Linked DNA regions of Homo sapiens: all the other regions are linked to region 3. The links are contacts of gene promoters, found by promoter capture Hi-C in human tissues and cell types (Jung and others, 2019). All regions are on one chromosome and are shown on one strand. The core of a region is centred on a gene start or on the middle of the fragment in contact, and the rest is flanking DNA. Distances in the headings are between cores, read along the strand shown. Region 1 holds the start of KRT82 (keratin 82). Region 2 holds the start of KRT76 (keratin 76). Region 3 overlaps KRT2 (keratin 2).

What was found. The method cuts DNA at HindIII sites, captures the fragments that hold promoters and counts their contacts. A contact is called where the count stands out against the background at its distance.
Region 1: a contact is called between the fragment with the promoter of KRT82 here and a fragment that was not itself captured in region 3, in 2 of the 25 tissues and cell types used here (mesendoderm cells and thymus).
Region 2: a contact is called between the fragment with the promoter of KRT76 here and a fragment that was not itself captured in region 3, in 2 of the 25 tissues and cell types used here (bladder and lymphoblastoid cells).

Annotation. Positions count from the first base shown.
Region 1 is chr12:52,405,073-52,408,030 of GRCh38, forward strand. It overlaps KRT82 (keratin 82), which reads right to left and starts at 1,263. Exons shown (of 9, transcript NM_033033.4): 1 at 795-1,263. The coding sequence starts at 1,205. The HindIII fragment of the contact is 10,212 bases long and covers 1-2,958 here.
Region 2 is chr12:52,775,853-52,778,599 of GRCh38, forward strand. It overlaps KRT76 (keratin 76), which reads right to left and starts at 1,493. Exons shown (of 9, transcript NM_015848.4): 1 at 840-1,493. The coding sequence starts at 1,439. The HindIII fragment of the contact is 5,333 bases long and covers 1-2,747 here.
Region 3 is chr12:52,646,459-52,649,499 of GRCh38, forward strand. KRT2 (keratin 2) reads right to left here. Exons shown (of 9, transcript NM_000423.3): 4 at 2,549-2,644; 5 at 1,715-1,879; 6 at 1,272-1,397; 7 at 282-502. Among named protein-coding and RNA genes, the nearest start is that of KRT2, 4.2 kb to the right of the region's middle. The HindIII fragment of the contact is 3,386 bases long and covers 1-3,041 here.

The sequences.
Region 1 (2,958 bases), core at 13-2,512, 240 kb before region 3:
GGATGGACCCAGAGGCTGTTGAGTCCTTCAGCACCTTCAGAAGGCATGCCACATCTTTTCCTGCAGTGGGTGCTGTACTGTAGATGTGGGAATCTGCGCTCTTCCTGCAGTGGGTGCTATACTGTAGATGTGGGAATCTGCACTGTTCCTGCAGTGGGTGCTGTGCTGTAGATGTGGGAATCTGCACTGTTCCTGCAGTGGGTGCAGATTCAGTTCAGCACCTTCTGAAGGCATGCCTTCCTAGCAGCCTTTCAGTGGCTCTGGAGATGACAGATGTAAGACTTTTGTGACCGTCACCCTGTGCCTCTAGCTCTGACTGTCCACTTTCCTCTCATCCCAGGCCTAAAATGATTGGAAACTCTGAGGTCACAGTGTCCATCCTCACCTTCAGGCTCAAGAGTTGTGACACAGCTCAGGCACACAGAAGGCGGTTCTACTGTTAAAGCCTCATCAGGAAGGGCATTTCTCTGCCTCTCTGGTCATTCCTTTCAGTATTGCTTTGGAAGTTCCTCTTATAGTCTGACCTCAGGCAACCTTGGTGATTGGTGATTTTGTCAGATAATATTCAGAGAAAGATGATATATTTTAAGAAAGACAAGGAAGCAGAAATGTTTAGTGCAGAATCTGATCTAACTGGCTTTCAAAGGCTGGTGGTCGTGGAATGTGAGGGAGGCCACTGGATAAACTGAGGCCTCCTCAATGTCAGTCTCCTCCTGGTTCCCTTGGACCAGAACAAGACCAGACCCCAGATCTGCAGTGGGTCCTCTCACGGCCCTGGGCCACTGCCCCCTTACCTTGTTGATGAAAGATGCGAAACGGTTGTTGAGGCACTTGATCTGCTCCTTCTCATCCCTCTTTACCCTCTGCACAGTCGGGTCTATCTCCAGTGCCAGTGGGACCAGCAGGCTCTCATTGATGGTGACAGGGGTGATGCAGGCAGAAGGCCCACAGGTGGCTCCCAGTCGGTACCCGAAGCCAGGCAGGGTACCTCCACACCTGGAGGCTACCCGGGGCCTCCCAAAGCCCACGTTGCACAGGCTCCGTGAGCCAAGGCAGCCCAGAGCTCGGAGGCCCCTACCACCCCCGGGCCGGCATGGCCCCTTGCTCACTGCATAGTGGGTGACCATCCGGGGCATGACAGCCGAGTATGAGCTGAAACTCTGACTGCCACACCTGGAGCCTGGCTGGAAAGAGTGGTACGACATGGCAGGAGAGAGAGGCAGAGAAATGCGGCCCTGGAGGAAAGAACCGGGGCAGGATGATCAAGTCAGGCTCAGCTTCCCCCCTTTTATCTGGTAGGGGGATGGAGGACTGAGATGTGTCAAACCCCAAATCACCATTAAACTAGGTTTATGAGCTTGGGATATTGGCAGAGCTAAGTAGCAAGGTGGATAATTAGGGTAGCGAAGAGCAAAGAGAAGGGGCCAATGGTCAGTGCTGGTGGGCCCTATAAAAATCCTATTTGTCCTCCTTCCTTGATTGTGGGGGTGATGAAAGGGGCCAACCAGACAGATATGTTCCATGTATCCAGTGGCTCAGCCTCAAGGAAAGGGAGAGTTGGGACTACGTCATTTCATAGGAGGGGAGGCGTGCCATGAATTATACACCCTGGCTTCTCTGGGATTAGAGGGCAAGTCCCATATGCTTAAAGATGCTCTGGCTCTTTCCCCAAGGCTGCTCCTAGGCTTTTTTGCAGATCCTCAACCCAAGTGCCCTCTGTGGGCTCCTAGGTGAGTCAGGAAGTTCCCAGGAGGAAGGCTTTTGGGGTGGGAGAATCCTCCCTACAACAGGCCGGACCTTAACCCTCCTGAGCTCTGGCTCAGTGACCCACTGTCCCATGAGGGTCTTGAAGGTAGACAGACTCCAGGCATAGACACTTTTCTACAGGGCCCATCAGTCCACAAAGGCTGCAGGGAACTCAAGAGGAGAGGCCTGGTGCTTGAGAAGGGCAGAGGAAGGGACGCTCTCCTCAACACTTCTGGGGCCCCCAGAAGGCATGATTTCAGCATCAGGTCTCGGCTTCCATGTGGCTGTTCCTTTCCCCTTTTGCCCAACCCAGCCTGAGTGTCCCTGAGGTCAACAGAGCCAGCTTTGGCCTGAGGATGTCTCTGGGGAGAGTTGTTGCCCTTGGGAATTTTCAGGTGGAGGTGGGATTCAGGTTTTCTTTCCAGCTCAGGTCGCAGACACAGCTCTTTGGAGATGTCTGAAGCCCCCGCCTCACTCTCTTTCCTCCTCTTTTCCATCAATTTCATCAGTGAAACTTTTGCCATGGCCGAATGGCCTTTCCCTTCCACACTGAGACTTATCACCAGGTCAAAATCAAACCAATAATAATAATAATAACAATAATAAACATTTATTGGGCATTTATTGTGTGTTGGGACCACTCCGTACTCTTTACATCCATGGTCTCATTTAATTCTCTGACCACACAATGAGATAGTTACTATGCCACAGACAGGAAAATGGGAAGCACAGCAGTTAAGAGCAACATCCCCAAGTCACACAGCTTGTGGCTGATCAGCTGGGAGTCCATCCTGTTCCTTTTGACTTCACCCTGCCATGCTGCTCCACAGCAGGGAAGCCCAGGTGAGGAATTGGGAATCTGCTGCCCATAAATGTTCTGTTGTCCCTGTCCGTCAGCCTTCCAACCTGTGGATTAGGAGACTGGAACTCAAAGGTTTCCTGAGCCTCAGAAATTCTCAGTCTCATTGTGACATTTCACACTCCCTGTCCCCTTTTTCATAGTCCTGACTGTGGGCCCCAGAGTAGTGGAGGAGGAGGGGTGCAAGGCGAGACCACAGGCCACAATGGGAGGCAGAAGGTTGGGTGAGGGGGTCCAATTGCAGGGTGTCAGGGGAAGAAGACCACACTCTTCCCTGGACTGAGTCCACAGAGGGGGCCCAGGATGGTGTGAATGTTGATGGAGACACTCAGAGGCCCCACCAGAGAGCAGAT
Region 2 (2,747 bases), core at 243-2,742, 130 kb after region 3:
GATCCCCATTTTGTAGATAAGGAAACTGAGACTCAAAGAGTTTAAGTTTCCCAAAGTGACAAGTCTACTGAGTGACAAAGCTAAGAATCAAACCCAGGACTGTCCTGGGTCTATAGGGATCCTTCAGAATACCACTGAAGGAGGTAAGCACAAATAAAGTTTGTCATTGTTTTTTAGATGTAAGCTTTTTTCAGCTCCATAAAGGCAGTGAATACAGTCAATGAGGTCTAACATTTCTTTAGAAGTTTCACATAGGAAGACCTCCTTTCAGTTATTCAGCTTGCAGCTGAACTAGAATTCACTTCAGATCCTGGGCTCAGTCCCACACAGACCCAGAACACCCTCCTCTGCCCCAGCATGGACAGCTCAGTTTAATTATTGGCTGAAGCACAGCATCATCTGGAAGGTAAGGCAGCTGCCAATGCACCTCATTTAGATGCAGCCTCAAGATCTGTGCTAACACAAGGTTTTGATTACCAGCTACTTTGGATTATCAAGCAATTGCTTTTCAGGAGAAATTAAAGTAACTGCAATAATTTCATGACTAAAATGGCTCATTCTTCAAAAAGCTAAGAGCATGTTTGGACCCCCACTTCATTTACCCTCATCTCATTCTTAGCAGGAAACCAGGACCAGGAATTCTTCCCCCCATTTCACAGCTGGAAAAAGAAGGCCCAAAAAGTGAAAGGGGCATGATCACTGTCCTGTAGGGACCAAGACAGCACCAGGACAAGAGCCAAGCGCCCCTGCCCTGTGTCTCACAAGTCCCCATGGCATCTTTCTACACCGACCCCTGGGCACCCCAAACCCTCCACAGCACCTCTTGGCCTTGCCCTCACCTTGTCGATGAAGGAGGCAAACTTGTTGTTGAGGGTCTTGATCTGTTCCCGCTCCTGGGCCTTTACTTGCCCAATCTGGGGGTCGATCTCCACATTGAGGGGCTGCAGGAGACTCTGGTTTACAATCACTTCCTGAATTCCCCCAGGAAAGCCCCCAGGGCCAAAGCCACCAGGACCACCAAAGCTGCCAGGCCCACCAAATACACCAGGACCACCAAAGCCACCAGCTCCACCAAAGCCACCAGCCCCTCCAAAACCACTACCTACTCCTCTGCCACCACCAAAGCCACCACCATAGCTGCCCCCAAAGCCACCTCCATAGCCACCTGCAAAGCCACAGCTGCTCCGCCCTCCCCCAAAGCCTCCAGCCCGGGAGCTGCCAGCTGCCACGCTGATGGAGATGCTCTTGTTGCTGCCCAGGTTGTAGAGGCTGCGACTGCCAAAGCTGCCTGCTCCGCTCCTGAAGCCACAGGCCCCTCCACCAGCTCCCCCAGAGCGGGCCACACAGCTCATCCTGCTGCTGCCGGAGACCACAGCAGAGCGGCCAGAGAAACCCTGGCTCCTGCCACTGAAGGATTTCTTGCAAACTTGTCTGTTCATAGTGAGAGAGCTTGGAGGCAAGCTAGTGATCACTTAGCAAGAGCTGAGAGGGATAGGGACAAGAGAGGAGACTGGCCTTTATATAACAGGGAGTTTGGCTTGGCAAAAGGAGAGGCGAGCAATTAGTTGAGAATCATCTTGGGTTTGGTTTGCCTCGTAGGCATTAAGTTACTTCTTGGTTCCCAACACACCTCAGAGATAATCCTCTGGGCCAGAGTGGCTTTGCTTTCTTAGCTTAATCACCTAAACTTGCCTCAGTTGACAAAATGCTGGAGCTCTCCTCCCTCCCTTTTTGTGCTGTCCTCAAGGGTTTCAGGGAACCCAAGCAGCACCTGATCCAGCAGGAGGAAGCAGCTTTAGACACCAGGTGATCCGGAGCCATGAGCTCCCTGACACAGGGGGGTGAGGACCAGGCAACCTCTTCTGAGTGGGCTGGGTCCCTCCCTGCAGCACCACAGTGTCCACAGGCTCCCACAGTGGCTGCGCCCGTCTCTGCCATCATTAGGCCTTTTCTTCCAGTGGCATGTCACCTGTTCCCAACTCTTCAGAGGGCCTGGAGTGGGAGCGGAAGTGAGAGGGGCCCAGACCCATAGAGTCTGCTCTGCCAGCACCTCAGCCAAAGGCATCCATCTCAGCAAACCTGGAGTTTGGGCTGAGAAATGCTACTTATGGGGAAGAAATTACAGTGGAGGTAAACACGTCTAGCTCCTGGAACAGGGAGCAAACAAGTATGAGGTTTGGGAAGAAGAGGGGGCATGCACTGTGGAGAGCCTCAGACCAAGCCCTCCCCCCACCATCCTAGACTGACAGCAGGCAATTTCTGGACCCAGAAGCAAGAGGAGACAGAATCTGGTAACCCTCCAGCTGGCTGGTAGAGTCGGCTCAAGCACCCCATTCATCTTAGGAGGACAGTGTATCTTGTGTCTAGGCCCCAACTCAGATCTTCTGGAGGGGATCCCCTCCCTGCTTTACCCCCTGGTCTGGGTCAGATGCCCCTCCTTGTCTTCCCACCATACCCTGTACTTTTCCCATCGTGAACCTGACATAAAGTATACTTACCTGCTTACTTGTCCATACCCCTCCGGTCCCTGAGCTTCTTGAGGGCAAGGCTTGAGTCCTGCCCATTCTAAATTATCCTAAATGTCCAGCTCCTAGCATAGGGTAAGCACAGCACAAACGTGTTAACTGACTGATGACTGATGTCTAAGAATGCAAATACCTAAAACCAGCTCCCACCCCAGCCCTATGAATGAAAATCTTCAGAGGAAAGGGTTGAGAGTTTGCATTTTTAACAAGCCCTCCAGGTCA
Region 3 (3,041 bases), core at 143-2,642:
CCATGATTTTGTTTTCTCTTTCAGAAAAGACCAGGATGTTTAACTTACTGCTTAGTTTAATTTAATGTGCCTTATGCATCATTTCATGTTGATAAATGTGTAACTCTCCAATCATGCTTTATGTCCTGAGTTTCTGCTTGGGGAACACAGAGAATGTCAGTTCTCAGTTGTCAGGAGGGCCTGCCCCATTCTCTGCTTTCCCTGTCTTTGCCTCCAGCCCTGGCTCTGGGAGAGATGAGAGGAAGGGCCAGGGTCCCCTTCTCCCTTCCCAGTGCCCTCACCTGCACTCCTCGCCCTCCAGCAGTTTGCGGTAGGTGGCGATCTCCACATCTAGGGCCAGCTTCACGTTCATCAGCTCCTGGTAGTCACGCAGCAGCCGCGCCAAGTCCTCCTTGGCCTGCTGCAGGGCCTCCTCCAGGTCATTCAACTTGTTCCTGGCATCCTTGAGGGCATGCTCCCCACGCTGCTCGGCATCTGCGATGGCATCTTGCACATTCTTACACTATGACAGAAGGACAGAGAATGGATTCTGCCTGACGGAGGCGGACAGAGAGCAGAGGTGTTCGAAGTGCAGGAAGCCAGAACCACTGGCCCTGGGAGTGTTAGGTCCCCTCTGGAGTTTAGTCGCAAACAACTGTGCTAAGACTTGCCGCTGTCTCTGGCACATCTTCTTCCCATGTCACCGTTGATGACACCCTTTGGCTTTCCCCATAGTGCCCTTTGATCCTCACATCACAGGGCCTGAATCATGATCCCATTTTACAGATGGAAATGAAAACATTTGAAATGGTCTGCTTGGCAAAGCTTCTGCTGCTGATGGAATCCACTCTCTGCCTCTACCTTTTCTATTCCAAAGCTAACGTCCAGCCCCAGGCCAGCTGCCCTCAATACTCACTGCCCCTCTATGAAACCAGTCGGCTGGTGCTCAGGGCCTGTGCTGAGCACAAACGGGAAGCTCCATCGGCAATCTGCAGCAAATCAATCAAACTAACGTTTGCTCTATTTGTTATGACTCCCTTTTCCTCATATAAACAAGTGAGCACAATTCTTTCCCTTCGATAATCCTTACTTTGGAATGTCTATTAGAGCACTCTAAGAATTGTTATAATAAGCCATAAATTATGTTAAGCTGGGGAATTTGGGATCGATACATGCTAGAGTGCAATATCTCAGTGTCTCTCATCTCTCACATGCACACTCACACACAACCACACTCTCACGCACACCCAGAGACAACCTCCCGCCCCTCGCTGGACAGGGCTGGGCCTCACCTGCTTCTTCACATGTGCGATCTCCCCCTGCAGCCTCTGGATCACGCGGTTCAGCTCGCTGATCTCTATCTTGATCTCTTTCAGGCTGTCTCCATGTCTCCCGACAGTCACCTGGAGCTCCTCATACTGATATGGGGAGAAGAGGACAGTTTGCAAGGAAGTTCCAGCCTGGCTCACATTCCAGACTGACTGGAGTGAAGGAGAGCTGGTTACTGGTCCAGGGAGGGTCAACCCAGCTAAATGTCATGGCTGCATTCATGAGAGGTAGGGACTGTCTCACATGCCCAAAAGGACTTGGTGCCATTCTCAACATCCTTTCTTGGGAATGGTGCCCAACTACCATTAAACAAAAAACCAATAACCTTACTGTACACTTTCCAGCTGGGGGTGCAACCCAGCTCATGGCAGGGAGCTGTGGCTCTTCCTACATTCCCTCTACTTGCCTTGCTGTGGTACAGGGCCTCCGCTTCTTCCTTGCTCCTCTGGGCGATCTCCTCATACTGGGCCTTGACCTCGGCGATGATGCTATCCAAGTCCAGGTTGCGGCTGTTGTCCATGGAGAGGATGACGTTGGTGTCAGTGACACTCTGATGTATCTGGGATATCTCCTACAACACACAGGAAGGTCTGGTCATGACATCCTGCCATAGCTACAGGCAGACAGGAGGCCTCTGTCTCCCAGCATAAGGGAAACGCAGACCCTCAGACTAAGCATACACTAGGTGGGATGAAAATCATGTAACCGTCTACTCCTGGGCCTCTCCCAAGGTTGTCCTGAGAATTGTAGTGAGAGGCACCTGTATTTCTGAGCCTCCTAGTTAACATTCAGCACTTAAGCCAGTTATGGTAAGTGCCCCCAGACAGAAGCTTGTCCATGGCAAATACCTTAAATGGACTTCCTGTTTCAGAAATCATCTGTGCACCCTTGGGTTGGGGAGGGGGATAGGAGACAAATGCATTTTGACCTCTGAAGTACAGTAGGCACAGGAATGGGCACAGGGCTTGTCTCTTCCCCAGGGGAAATGGACATCTGGGGAATGGAGGGAGGGGAAGCTGTCCTGGTGTTTCCTGAACCTTATTCCCATAACATCGGAGGAGAAAATTCCTCACCCACAAGACCTATGCTATGAAAGCCCCCCCAGTGGCCTGGAATGATGGCAGATTGAAGTCAGCTGGTCCATAAACCCCACTTCTGCCACTTTTTCACCAAGCAGAAAGGACTTTCATTTGGTGAGAAGGGTGGGAAGTAAGGGACTGTCCCGGAGCAGCCTCCTTACCGCATCATAGAGAACTTTCAGAAACTCAATTTCCTGGTTCAGCAGGTCCACCTTGGACTGCAACTCCACCTTTATCATGTAGGCATTGTCCACGTCCTGCAAGAAAGGTTGAGGCCTCTGGTGTATGGTTCCCTGTACAGGCCTCTTCCTCTCTCTGCCACTCCCCTCTACTCAGTCCCTGCTGGCTCCTCTCTAAAATCCCAGGCTCCCCAACCTGATCCCTGTCCCCATGGGACTTCTTTTGTCGTGCAGTTTACCATACACCTCTGCCAGGGACTTCATGCCTACGTCCATGGCTCACAGCCCTCAGGACCATCAGAGCCTCGAGATGACCAAGCTTTGCCAACCAGCCCCTCTCTCCTGCTTGAGACACTGTGTGTTTCTACAACAGGATACGATGTTCTTTGTGGGTTTCCACAGTCCTCAGCTCTCTCATCCCGTCTGTCCATCTCACCTCTCCGAAATTTCCCCAGAATATACACCAAAGGCCCTG